Linked DNA regions of Homo sapiens: regions 2 and 3 are each linked to region 1. Evidence: promoter capture Hi-C in 16 types of primary human blood cells and fetal thymus (Javierre and others, 2016). All regions are on one chromosome and are shown on one strand. The core of a region is centred on a gene start or on the middle of the fragment in contact, and the rest is flanking DNA. Distances in the headings are between cores, read along the strand shown. Region 1 holds the start of SLC25A11 (solute carrier family 25 member 11). Region 2 overlaps MINK1 (misshapen like kinase 1). Region 3 overlaps LOC105371501 (a long non-coding RNA gene).

Region 1 (4,023 bases), core at 1,524-4,023:
ACAACCTTCTACTCAAATCCTCTGGGAACCCTGGCATCTTGCACTTTGGCCCCACCCCACCTAAAGGATTGGCTTCTTTTCCTGAGGCCTTCAGCCTTCCCACCATCTCTGGGTCCTACTGAAAGCCCAGCTGTATAGATTCCCCCAGCCTTACCACTATTCCACACCATGTTCAGAAGTTCATTGGAATTCACATTGTGTACTACAGCGGCACCATATCCAGCCTTCTGGGCATTTAGGACCTAGGGAGACAAGGCAGAGGACAAGGAGCCATCATGGGCCTTACCTGTCTTCATTCCTGGTGCCTTTTTTTTACCCTCAGCTGCCCAGCTCCCCTTCCTCATTCAGCAACCTTGAGGTCAAAGTTGCAGTCGAATCTTCGAAGCAGCGCAATAAAGACTGACCCATTGACCGGGGCTGGGGGTGGTGGGGCAATGGGGCTGCAGGCATTGTCTGGGTGAGCCTCCACAAGGAACCCCTGAAGGATGGAAGCAAACAACAGTGAGATTTCTCCTTTCTAGATTCTGCTCTCTACAGGGGCCACCAAACACACCAGCCCACATGCTGCACATCCTCTATCCTCACTTCCTCCTCCTTCCTGGGGTCTGAGTGAGCATCCCACCATCACAACCTTCTCTTAGCCTCTTGAAAAGGCAATGACATAAAACATCCCTTCACCAAACTCTCCCATCATCCCTCTCGCTGTCCCAGATGGGCTAATCTGTACCCTATACTGCAAGCTAATGCAATTATTTTTGCCTTCTAATATTCCAATTGTAATTCAATTCTCAAACCACCCATGTCACTTTCTCTCAAGTTCTGTTTCACAGTCCCCTCTCCAGCACATACTCATACAGACACACTCCCCTCCCTTCAGTTTTCTTTTTGTTTTTCTTTTTTTTGAGATGGAGTCTCGTTTTGTCACCCAGGCTGGAGTGCAGTGGCGCGATCTCGGCTCACTGCAACCTCCACCTTCCGGTTTCAAGTGATTCTCCTGCCTCAGCCTCCCAAGTAGTTGGGACTACATGCGTGCACCATCACGCCCAGCTAATTTTTGCCATTTTAGTAGAGATAGGGTTTCTCCATGTTGGCCAGGCTGGTCTTGAACTGGGATTACAGATGTGAGCCACCGCGCCCGGCCTCTTCAATTTTCTAATTACCCATCTCACAAACAACTCGACTGCTACTAAGGCCCAACTGAGTTCTTGCTATGTGGCAGTCTTTGGGATGAAATACTACCAAAATTGCGTATCTACTTTGATCTTCACAATAACCCTAGGAAAACTTCTAATATCCCATTTTACAGTAAAACAAACTAAGGCTCAGAGAGATTAACTTGCCCAAAGTCATATAAGCAATAACTAGCACCTGAGACCTTCCTGATAAGGACCGTTGATCCTGCCTTCTGTCTTCGTCCACTTTCAGTCTCCCTGATAACCTCGGAGTTCCAGGGGTGGACACTCTGTCTTCTCCCTCTAGATTCTGGGTTCTACACTAGACGTGCTCAGTTCCTAACTTCATTTTCCTACCTCCAGTTTCACCCAGGACAAACCTCCCCAACCCCAGCCTAGGATGGAGGATCTTGCGAAATACTAAAAAAAGAAAAAAGACAGAAAAGGAAGGAAGGGAGGGAAGGAGGAAAAGAAAAGAAAGAAAATCACCTGGAGGCCCTCCTGGCTCAAGGTAGCCCCAAACAGAGCTGGAAGGTCTGCAAAGTCCATGCTGGCATTGTGGTCCGAGGTCTGCGGACAAAAAAGGCGATGTTCCCCTTCAGCCTGCAACCCTTCCTTTCAGCGCCCTTTCCCCATCCGTCCCTCAGACTCACCGCTCGAATGAGCCCCCGGGTCGGGGCCGCTCCCCACAGCACAGCGGCCACAACCACAGGAAGCGGGAAGGCTGCAGGGTGCATGGCAGCGGGAGGAAAGAGGCTGAGGAGGCCGCGCGTCCTGGTAGCAAGGAGCAGAAGCGGAGTTCTGCGCCCTCCCTGCCCCTCCTTTAGGATCCCAGGGGTCCAACCACCCCCAGGTCCCACTTCCCAGCTACATGGGGGCGCCGGGGAAGGAACACCAACTCAAAGAATGAGATATCCAACCCGTTTAGTGGAGCTGGGTGGGAGGCACTAAATGTATCCTTTTCTGGTACGGGGATAAAACGCGGAAAGGGGACGGAGCCTAACACAGGTGACAGAAAAACTTCGGGAAGGGTGGCGGAGCTCAAGGAGGTGGGACTTCCTGCTAGGTGGGCCGTGTTCCCAGCCTCTGGAAAAGGGCTTCCGGTAGAGAAAATCAGGCCGCTTTCAGCATTGGATGCTTGAGATGAAGGACTTCCGGTCCTAAAAGGCCGGTTAAAAAAAGGTTAGCGATGGAGGGACTGCCTGTGGAGATGGAAGGGGCACTGGTGGCCCAGAAGACGACCTAATAAAAGTGCCCGGAAACCCGGAGCCTCCTAGTTTACAAACCTCTCCTCCCTCTGGCCTCCGCCGCTCCTTCAAATCTCGCGAGAGTGCTCACCACCTCTCCCGTCCCCTCGCAGCTGAATAGTTGCTGTGTCTATCGCGAGAGCGCTCCAACTTGGCGAGCCGTACTCACTCGATCTCGCGAGACCTTCAAACAAACTCTTCTCTATTTTCCCGCGATTCTAATTCGGTGAAAACAGCGCCTTTCCTCTGGTTTCCAAATCAGTTACGCCCCTTCTCGCACGCTTCCATCAAGCTCCTCCTTCAGCTCCGCCTTACTCCCGGCCGCCTTTGCGCTGCGCGCCTGCGCCCGCGCCGGCTTCCAGCGGGTGTCGGACCTGAGAGCTGGAGGGGCGTGCGCGCGCCCTCGCTCTGTTGCGCGCGCGGTGTCACCTTGGGCGCGAGCGGGGCCGCGCGCGCACGGGACCCGGAGCCGAGGGCCATTGAGTGGCGATGGCGGCGACGGCGAGTGCCGGGGCCGGCGGGATAGACGGGAAGCCCCGTACCTCCCCTAAGTCCGTCAAGTTCCTGTTTGGGGGCCTGGCCGGGTAAGCTCAGGCCCCAGGGATGGGAAAAGAGGAGGAAGGGAAGGGCAAAAGGAACCGGGCCCGGTTCATCTCTGGGTCTGTTGCAGTGAACTGTGCCGGCACGGGGTCAGCGCGATCTCCAGCGTATTGCGAGTTCCCCGATGGGCTGCTAGGGCCCCATTGCAGGACCCTTATGGACTGCATGCAGGGTCGTTGCACAACCCCCGCCGGGCCAGCTGAGTTTCCCAGCGCATTGCTAAGCTCGGCCGGGCGGCAGGGGGTTCCAGGCCATTAAATGGCTCCTGCAGGACTACCTGGAGTCCTAAATCTTGGATGCCCCTTCCTCCCCTCCCTGTGTCGGACTGCGTGCAGCCCCAGGTCACTGCTTGACTGTCATGAAGCTGCTTGGAGCACTTTCATTGCATGGCCCCTACTGGACAACTAGACTTTTCAGACCCGTTGCACTTGGTGTACATATAGACTCTTATACACATGCTCACCAGCATCCTGATTCTTGAATCGCATGGCAGGCCCTGACCTTTGTAACCTCTTGCTGCCAGGCTCCAGTGGGCACTGGTAGATCTGGAATGCCTGGCCCTTCACTCCACCTCTGTCTTCCCCCAGGATGGGAGCTACAGTTTTTGTCCAGCCCCTGGACCTGGTGAAGAACCGGATGCAGTTGAGCGGGGAAGGGGCCAAGACTCGAGAGTACAAAACCAGCTTCCATGCCCTCACCAGTATCCTGAAGGCAGAAGGCCTGAGGGGCATTTACACTGGGTATTGGGGCCTCAGGATGGAGGGTAGACTGTGGGTTGGCAGCTCTAGACCTTGGCCTGATATGCTGACCCCTCTGCTCCTCAGGCTGTCGGCTGGCCTGCTGCGTCAGGCCACCTACACCACTACCCGCCTTGGCATCTATACCGTGCTGTTTGAGCGCCTGACTGGGGCTGATGGTACTCCCCCTGGCTTTCTGCTGAAGGCTGTGATTGGCATGACCGCAGGTGCCACTGGTGCCTTTGTGGGAACACCAGCCGAAGTGGC
Region 2 (4,200 bases), core at 1,598-4,097, 100 kb after region 1:
CTCCCACAGGCTGTGCCACCAAACTCTCCTCACAGCCCACCTCACCGTCTTCTACGCTGCCATCCTCCCGACATTCAAGCTGGTCCCAGAGCCTGGCTCCTTCAGGAAGCCCAAGACTTGTGGCTTCCCCAACCCTGTTTCCTTTCAAACACGCAAAATCAGTAACACTCCCCCTCCACACCCCACTCATCCTTTACTTGTATACAATGTAAATGGAGAGTCTTGTCTATTTATATACACTATCTATCCAATGTTAGAAAGAATCCCACTTCCCACAGACCATGCAGCTAAGCTGAGGGCTGGGCCTACTTGTTCTTATTTCCGTGAGACTCACCTACCTTCCAAACTCCAGGCACCCCTTAGGCTAATAACATCTAGGGATACACCCTCCTCTCTCATATACCCCATTCTGAGGAGCCACATCTAAACTACAGACCCAGGACCCAGAGTCCCTCCCCCAGTAAGTAAAAATGAGGATTATATGAGTCATAAGCTCTTTCCATATACATGCTCTTAACTTTTGAGACAAACAAATAAACCATTTTTTTTCCCCTCCCACAGGAAGATTCAGAAGAAATCCTTTTGGAATTAAGCCTGGAGTTTCCACCCCATCCTCAGGCTTCTTGCCCTCAATTGTTGACCAAATGCTTCACCATAAGAATGGCCCCATTCCAGAGTCTCCCAATTCTCACCATCACCAAACTCTACCTGCTGGTTCAACTCTATCTCATCTTTCTGCAGCAATGCCAGTTTAGCTTTCTGACATGATTTACGTCTCTCTCAATCAACTAGATATTTTTGTCTTATAAAAGTTTTGTCTCGTAAAAGCAATTTTTTTTCCATGACACAGCCCTCAGGAGATCCTGAGAACATATGCTCAAAACAACTCTTGTTATATGTGCCCACGGCATGTTAAAGTTTTCACTACAGTCCTTATCATGGCTTGCAATCACACACACACACACACACACACACACACACACACACACACACACATTAATAAATAATTACTTGATTAATGTCTCTCCCTACTACTAGACTGTATCACCACTGTGTCCTCTGTGCCTAGTTCTAGATCTTTCCTCAAACAGAACACAAAATCCTACCCACACGTAGCACGTACAACCTCAGGCTGTCTAGCCACTGGACAAAATCTCCAGGGGCTCTCTTGGGTCACTACAATTCCATCCCTCTTTTCTCTCCTCCCTTTACTATTCCCGCCCTTAGTAAGAACAAAGAGCCTCAAAACCCTTTTTCCATTACCCCCTAGAAGAGCTTCCTATAGATAAGAGAAGCCCAGTCTCAAGTCAAGGACTGGTTGGTTCGGAGGAGAATGGCAAAAGAACTGGAGAGAGCAAATGGCCGTGAGCTGTGGACAGGATCCAAGTCTTCTACCAAGTCACGTTTTTGTATCTTACTATACTCTGTGTGAATTCAAGAAATGCTTTGAGAGTTGACTTATTAACCTGATCACTTTTGTTCTGTCTTCAATCCAGGAAAGAGAAGACTGAGACAGATAGTAGTAAAAAGTAGGTGTCGAAGGGAGTGGGGCTGAAGACCAGGTTTCAAGATGACTGCCCACTGACCACAGAAAATGAGTGTAATTCATGGAAATCAGGTTTAACAAAAATGTCCCAACCTTGAAGGTTGCAGGATATTGAGGAAAACAGTAACAGTTAAGAAAAAGAGTCTAGGCCGGGCACGGTGGCTCGCGCCTGTAATCCCAGCACTTTGGGAGGCTGAGGCGGGCAGATTACAAGGTCAGGAGATCAAGACCATCCTGGCTAACACGGTGAAACCCCGTCTCTACTAAAAATACAAAAAATTAGCCAGGCATTGTGGCGGGCGCCTATAGTCCCAGCTACTCGGGAGGCTGAAGCAGGAGAATGGCGTGAACCTGGGAGGTGGAGCTTGCAGTGAGCCAAGATCGCGCCACTGCACTCCAGCCTGGGCGACAGTGCGAGACTGCGTCTCAAAAAAAAAAAAAAGAGTCTAGGCTTGGAAAGGCATTGCTTTGCTTGGGTGGATGTCCCCAGAGATCTGGTTAAATAGCTTAGTAGAGGACTGAGTACTATATTACATCCTTTCCATAGAATCTGGAACCTGATTCTCAATACATAGACTGCCAATGCTTGGCGACTGACTGGTGGAGGACAGGGGATTATTGATAACTTTCTCTGATTCAACTTTGTCTGGAGACAGAAATATTAGACAGGCAGACTCTCACCGGCTTCTGGAGATGTTCTCCAGTCCAGAATTGCTTTATGTTTCTGGGTTGAGAGGTTACTGCATGCCTTATCTACAGACCTACACCAGAATACAAGCTTATCAAGAGCGGCTGCACACTTCCTGCCATCATGTCCCCTAAATGACAAACAAAGATGGTTTACATGTGCAAGTTGTGTGTGCTACCCTGTCTTAGGCACACAGTTCAATGCGGAAAGGAATGGAGGCCAGATGTGAAGTCAGGATTCTACCCAGCAGAGTTTTAATTGAGCTCCTGGGGCAAGAGTGAGGGGGTGGGCCAGCTGGCTCTCTTGCTGACCTTACTGTTATCTTAACTGTCAAAACCTCCCTGCTGTGTATATCCCTAAGGACTATGGCAAACTGTCCTATCCCATAGCATAAAGGGTGGGGATGTCTCTCCCTCTGTTTGGGGAATGACTGATCACCTAGTTTCAGCCAAGTTCTCAGTAATCTTCCTTCCGTCATTTTGCCAAGGCAGCATTTCACTTCATCTAAATGCCTCGAGCTCTCCAAACAGCCCCATTCCCCTTTTGCAATTTTCCAGGGGAAAAAAGTCACTATTGAATGTCCTTACTTCTGCAGCAGGAGGTCACTCTTCCCATTCTCCTGCCTAAGGCATCTGTCATCAACATTTGGACAGCTAGCACATCAGAACACAGAGGCAGTCCCACGTTGCTCAGCAGCCTAGAAATACATGCCCAGAACTGCCAGCTTTCCGAGTGGTGCTGGCTCCACAGCCGCATGAAGAGAGGAGGAAGGCGAAGACACTTATCCAAAGAACAGACACAACAACACAAAATCATTTGAAAAAGAACATCTCTGTCAGCAGCTACCACCGAGCAACAAGTCCTCCTTGAATGTGCTCCATGCTATGATTTCAATCCAGCGACGCTAAGCATAGCTCCACAGTTTCAAGGACACTGCAGTCAAACTTCGAGCTGGATGGTAAAAAGAAGCTGTTTGATTTACGAAGTGGGTCAACCAAAAGGAGCAATGCAAAAGGAAAGAGGTCAGGCCGGGGCCTGCCCCCTCCTTGTCCCATCCACTTCCACTGATATTTATCCTTTGTGAGAAGCCAAGAGTTCCAAGTCAGAAGGTTCTCCTGGAATATAACCAAGCTTAGACACAGAGGCCCACATTTTCTCTTGGATGATCCTAACTTTACTTCAAGGGCATCGCTCAGCTGGAGGCTTCCAGAACTGTTTACCCCAGACAAGGTCTGATTCTAAAAACATCCCAGAAAAAATATATTCTTAATTGTGCATAAATAAAAGAGGGGCAAAATGAAGCCTAAGAAGCCTGGGGTTTATTGAATACTTTCTCTAAGCAAGCACTGCACTGTGTTGTAAGTGGCACGTGTTGTAAGAGGCACTTCTGCAACAAACGTTTGAGCCCCCATTATGTGCAAAACATGCTTACAGGCACTGGGGATACAAAAATGAACAAAACAGCCAAAATCTTAGCTTTCACCGAACTGTTTGTTGTAGTTGTTGTTGTTGTTTGAAACAGAGTCTGGCTTTGTCGCCCAAGCTGGAGTGCAGTGGTGCAATCTTGGCTCACTGCAGCCTCCACCTCCAAGGTTCAAGTGATTCTCCTGCCTCAGCCTCCCGAGTAACTGGGATTACAGGTGTGCGCCACCATGCCTGGCTAATTTTTTTGTATTTTTTTTTTAGTAGAGATGGGGTTTTACCATGTTGGCCAGGCTGGTCTCGAACTTCTGACCTCTCAGGTGATCCATCTGCCTCGGCCTCCCAAAGTGCTGGGATTACGGTCGTGAGCTACCACACCCGGCCACTGAACTGACATTTTAGTGGGGCTGACAGGAATATATATGTCAGCTGGTGATAAATACTATGAGGAAGGATAAAGCAGACTAAGGGAATGCTATATAAAATTTTGTATAAAAATAAAGCAGAGGAGGGAGTGCTATTTTAGATAAAGTTGTCCTGGAAG
Region 3 (3,851 bases), core at 444-2,943, 110 kb before region 1:
AACCTCGTCTCTACTAAAAATACAAAATTAGCCGGGCATGGTGGCAGGCGCCTGTAATCCCAGCTACTCGGGAGGCTGAGGCAGGAGAATCACTTGAACCTAGGAGGCAGAGGTTGTGGTGAGCCGAGATCACGCCATTGCACTCCAGCCTGGGCAACAAGAGTGAAACTCCATCTCAAAAAACAAACAAACAAACAAACAAAAACATAGCTTCTGTGTCTCTGGCTCTTGGCCCCACTCATCAGTGTAGACCCACAAATCCAGACAAAGTACTCACCAGCTATTTGTGCAAACCCCTAAAGGATGTCTTACATGTCCCAGTGAACGAGTCTGGTCATCTGTGGACTGACACCAGCCATTTTCTGCACTTCTTTATTCTCAGGACTCCTTCCGCTGAGTATCAGTTTGTCCTAGCTCCTGGCAACAAATAAATGTCAGGTATTCTTCCTCTGTTCCAAACCTTTCAAAGCTGTAGAGAAGCTGTTATTATAGAGTTATAAAATATTAATGCCACAAGAAACTTAAAAATCAGCCAGTCCAAGCCCCTCATTTAGCAGTTGCCCAAAATGAGGCACAAAAATCCGGAGACCTCCTCGTGGCTTGGTGTAGTGTCCAAGCTGAGATCTGACCAGCACTTTGGGAGGTCATGGCAGGAGGATCACTTGAGCCAGGAGTTCCAGATCAGTCTGTGCAACATGGCAAAACCCTGTCTCTACAAAAATTAGCTGGTTGGCTGGGTGCAGTGGCTCACACCTGTAATCCCAGCACTTTGGGAGGCTGAGGTGGGCGGATCACCTGAGGTCAGAAGTTTGAGATCAGCCTGGCCAACATGGTGAAACCCCATCTCTACTAAAAATACAAAAACTAGCCAGGCATGGTGGCACATGCCTATAGTCCCAGCTACTCGGGAGGCTGAGGCAGGAGAATCCCTTGAACCTGGGAGGAAGAGGTTGCAGTGAGTTGAGATCGTACCATTGGATTCCAGCCTGGGCAACAGAGTGAGATCCTTCTAAACAAAAAAATAGCTAGATATGGTAATGCAACGCCTGTAGTCCCAGCTACTTGGGAGGCTGAGGTGGGAGGATTGCCTGAGCCTGGGAGGTCGAGGCTGTGTTGACTAATGATCACGCCACCGTACTCCAACCTGGGCAACAAGAGCGAGACTCAGTCTCAAAAAAAAAAAAAAAAAAAAAAAAAATCTGTAGTCCTGTTGCCCTTTATTCACTTGGCTTATAGGTGTTATTTTGTCTTTCATTTTCTTTTCTTTTTTTCTTTTTTTTTTTTTTTTTTTTTGAGACGGAGTCTCGCTCTTGTTGCCCAGGCCAGAGTGCAGTGGCGTGATCTCAGCTCACTGCAGCTTCTGCCTCCCTGATTCAAGCGATTCTCCTGCCTCAGCCTCCCGAGTAGCTGGGGTTACAGGCGCCCACCACCACGCCCGGCTAATTTTTGTATTTTTAGTAGAGACAGGGTTTCACCATGTTGGCCAGGATGGTCCCGAAGTCCTGACCTCAGGTAAGCGACCCGCCTCGGCCTCCCAAAGTGCTGGGATTACAGGCCTGAGCCACGGTGCCTGGCCTATCTTTCATTTTCAAAGCTTGTTTTTGAGTGGTGGCATGGGGCACACCCCTGTACTGCTAATGCAAAGGAATATTAGAATCACCATTTGTGAAAGAAACTTGGCAGTCTGTTACAAGAGCCTCAGCTATGTCATACAGTTTCACCCAATAATTCTATTTCAAGAGACTTATCCAGGAAAAAAAAAAAAAAAAAGACCAAAATAAGAAAAGCTTTGTAATGAGCCCTTGTTGCTTTTACCTACCCAGTGCCTCTGTTCCTCTTCTGGTAACTGAATTCCTCCTTCATCTACCAATTTATAGCAGCAGGGTTTGAGATTCTTTCACTGAATTCCAACCAATCAAATTATCTGAAAAGTATTATTTTTCTTTTTTCAGACAGGGTCTCGCTCTTTCACCCAGGCTGGAGCACGGTGGTGTGACCCCAGTTCACTGAAGCCTCAACCTCCTGGGCTCAAGGGATCCTCCCACCTCAGCCTCCTGAGTAGCTGGGACTATAGGTGCACATCAGCATGCCCAACTAAATTTTATTTTTTGTAGAGATGGGGTTTCGCCATGTTGCTTGGGCTGGTCTCGAACTCCTGGGCTCCTGCGATCCGCCCATCTCAGCCTCCCAGAGTGCTGGGACTACAGGCATGGGCCATTGCACCTGGCCTTTAAAATATTCTTTTCTTTTCAAGTGAGAAATGGTATCCTACTGATGTCTTAATTTGCCTTTCTTTGATATATACAGTCAGGGAGAGCATCTTTTCCACATGTCTATTGGCCATGTGTATTTCCCATGAAATATTTCATACCACCCCCCTCACCATTTTACAATATGATCTTTATCAATGTCACAGTGATAGGATATGTCTCTAACCTGTATCTTTTATTTTCTTTCTTTCCTTTTTTTTTTTTTTGATACGGAGTTTTCCTCTTGTCGTCCAGTCTGGAATGCAATGACATGATCTCGGCTCACCACAATCTCCGCCTCCCGGGTTCAAGCAATTCTCCTGCCTCAGCCTCCCGAGTAGCTGGGATTACAGGCATGTGCCACCATGCCCGGCTAATTTTGTATTTTTAGTAGAGACAGGGTTTCGCCATGTTGGTCAGGCTGGTCTCGAACTCCTGACCTCAGGTGATCCACGCCCCCTTAGCGTCCCAAAGTGCTGGGATTACAGGCACGAACTACTATGCCTGGGATTAACCTGTATCTTTTGACTTATTAACTTGTCTGTGCTTACTGGAGTGGCACTCTGAGCTGAGCCTGGACAGGTGAGACTATTTCTAGAGGTTTGTCTATTCTATATATTTCATATAAACAGGATCATACAATATGTTGGAATTGCATCTTTATGTCTCTTTTCAGTAGTCCAATGGCACAATCTCAAAAACAGTCTAACTTCTGAACTTTTGCATACTGTTTGTTTGTGTTCTTCACATCTGGATTTGGCGTTCCCACGCTGGAATGCTGTTTGGGGGGATGATACGCAATCTTCTCTCAGTCTCCATGGTAATCGCTCTGAACTCACCGCCCAGCTGTAGGGCAGCGCTTGCATGTGATCATGATAAACTGCAATATGCATTCAACTGAAATAGAAAAGCAGCTCAAGGATGCACAGCGAAGCTGTGGTTTTTTTTGTTTTTGTTTTTGTTTTTTTGTTTTTTTTTGAGACGATGTTTTGCTCTTGTCGCCCAGGCTGGAGTGCAATGGCAAGATCTCGGCTCAGTGCAACCTCCGCCTCCCAGGTTCAAGTGATTCCATGCCTCAGCCTCCTGAATAGCTGGGATTACAGATGCCTGCCACCACACCCGGCTAATTTTTGTATTTTTAGTAGAGACGGGTTTTCACTGGTCTCGAACTCCTGACTTCAGGTGATCCACCTGCCTCGGCCTCCCAAAGTGCTGGAATTACAGGTTTGAGCCACCGCATCTGGCCTGCAGTGAAGCTTTCTAAGTCTATCTTTTCCTTTCTCCTTTCCTTCCTCGTGTCCCAAAGGCAGGAATATGCCCCTCCTCTTGAAGTTCCTCTGATTGTCCAGTCCTCCACGGAAAATCTTATTATTTGTTTATCAGACCAGAAGCAAAATAAATGCCCTTGAAAGGTGACAAGCAACAGCGTGAGGAGGACCTCGCTTGCCCAGGCAGCTTCCTCCAATCCCACCCTTGCCCCACACCAGAACAGAGGATAATTTCAGCACCCGTGCCTGGGAAGACACCCAAAATGAGTGTCTGTAGTTTGTCCCCTCTTTGAAAGAATGCAGGGCTTGAGAAGGCTCACTTTCCCTGCAGGCC

Evidence for each region. The method cuts DNA at HindIII sites, captures the fragments that hold promoters and counts their contacts. A CHiCAGO score of 5 or more calls a contact.
Region 2: a contact is called between a fragment that was not itself captured here and the fragment with the promoter of SLC25A11 in region 1, in 1 of 17 cell types (erythroblasts). The highest score is 5.1, in erythroblasts.
Region 3: a contact is called between a fragment that was not itself captured here and the fragment with the promoter of SLC25A11 in region 1, in 7 of 17 cell types (M1 macrophages, M0 macrophages, total B cells and 4 more). The highest score is 10.6, in M1 macrophages.

The regions. Positions count from the first base shown.
Region 1 is chr17:4,938,796-4,942,818 of GRCh38, reverse strand. SLC25A11 (solute carrier family 25 member 11) reads left to right here and starts at 2,773. Exons shown (of 8, transcript NM_003562.5): 1 at 2,773-3,003; 2 at 3,607-3,759; 3 at 3,844-4,023. The coding sequence starts at 2,909. It overlaps RNF167 (ring finger protein 167), which reads right to left and starts at 2,551. Exons shown (of 10, transcript NM_015528.3): 1 at 2,459-2,551; 2 at 1,826-2,332; 3 at 1,662-1,742; 4 at 353-478; 5 at 155-242. The coding sequence starts at 1,909. RefSeq lists enhancers at 1,644-1,773, 2,654-2,723, 3,440-3,965, 3,966-4,023 and silencers at 2,107-2,301, 2,864-2,933. The HindIII fragment of the contact is 8,197 bases long and covers 1-4,023 here.
Region 2 is chr17:4,836,736-4,840,935 of GRCh38, reverse strand. All of the region lies in intron 1 of MINK1 (misshapen like kinase 1), which reads right to left. Among named protein-coding and RNA genes, the nearest start is that of MINK1, 5.5 kb to the right of the region's middle. The HindIII fragment of the contact is 1,041 bases long and covers 2,327-3,367 here.
Region 3 is chr17:5,049,685-5,053,535 of GRCh38, reverse strand. It overlaps LOC105371501 (a long non-coding RNA gene), which reads right to left. Exons shown (of 4, transcript XR_002958101.2): 4 at 154-417. Among named protein-coding and RNA genes, the nearest start is that of SLC52A1, 16 kb to the right of the region's middle. The HindIII fragment of the contact is 193 bases long and covers 1,597-1,789 here.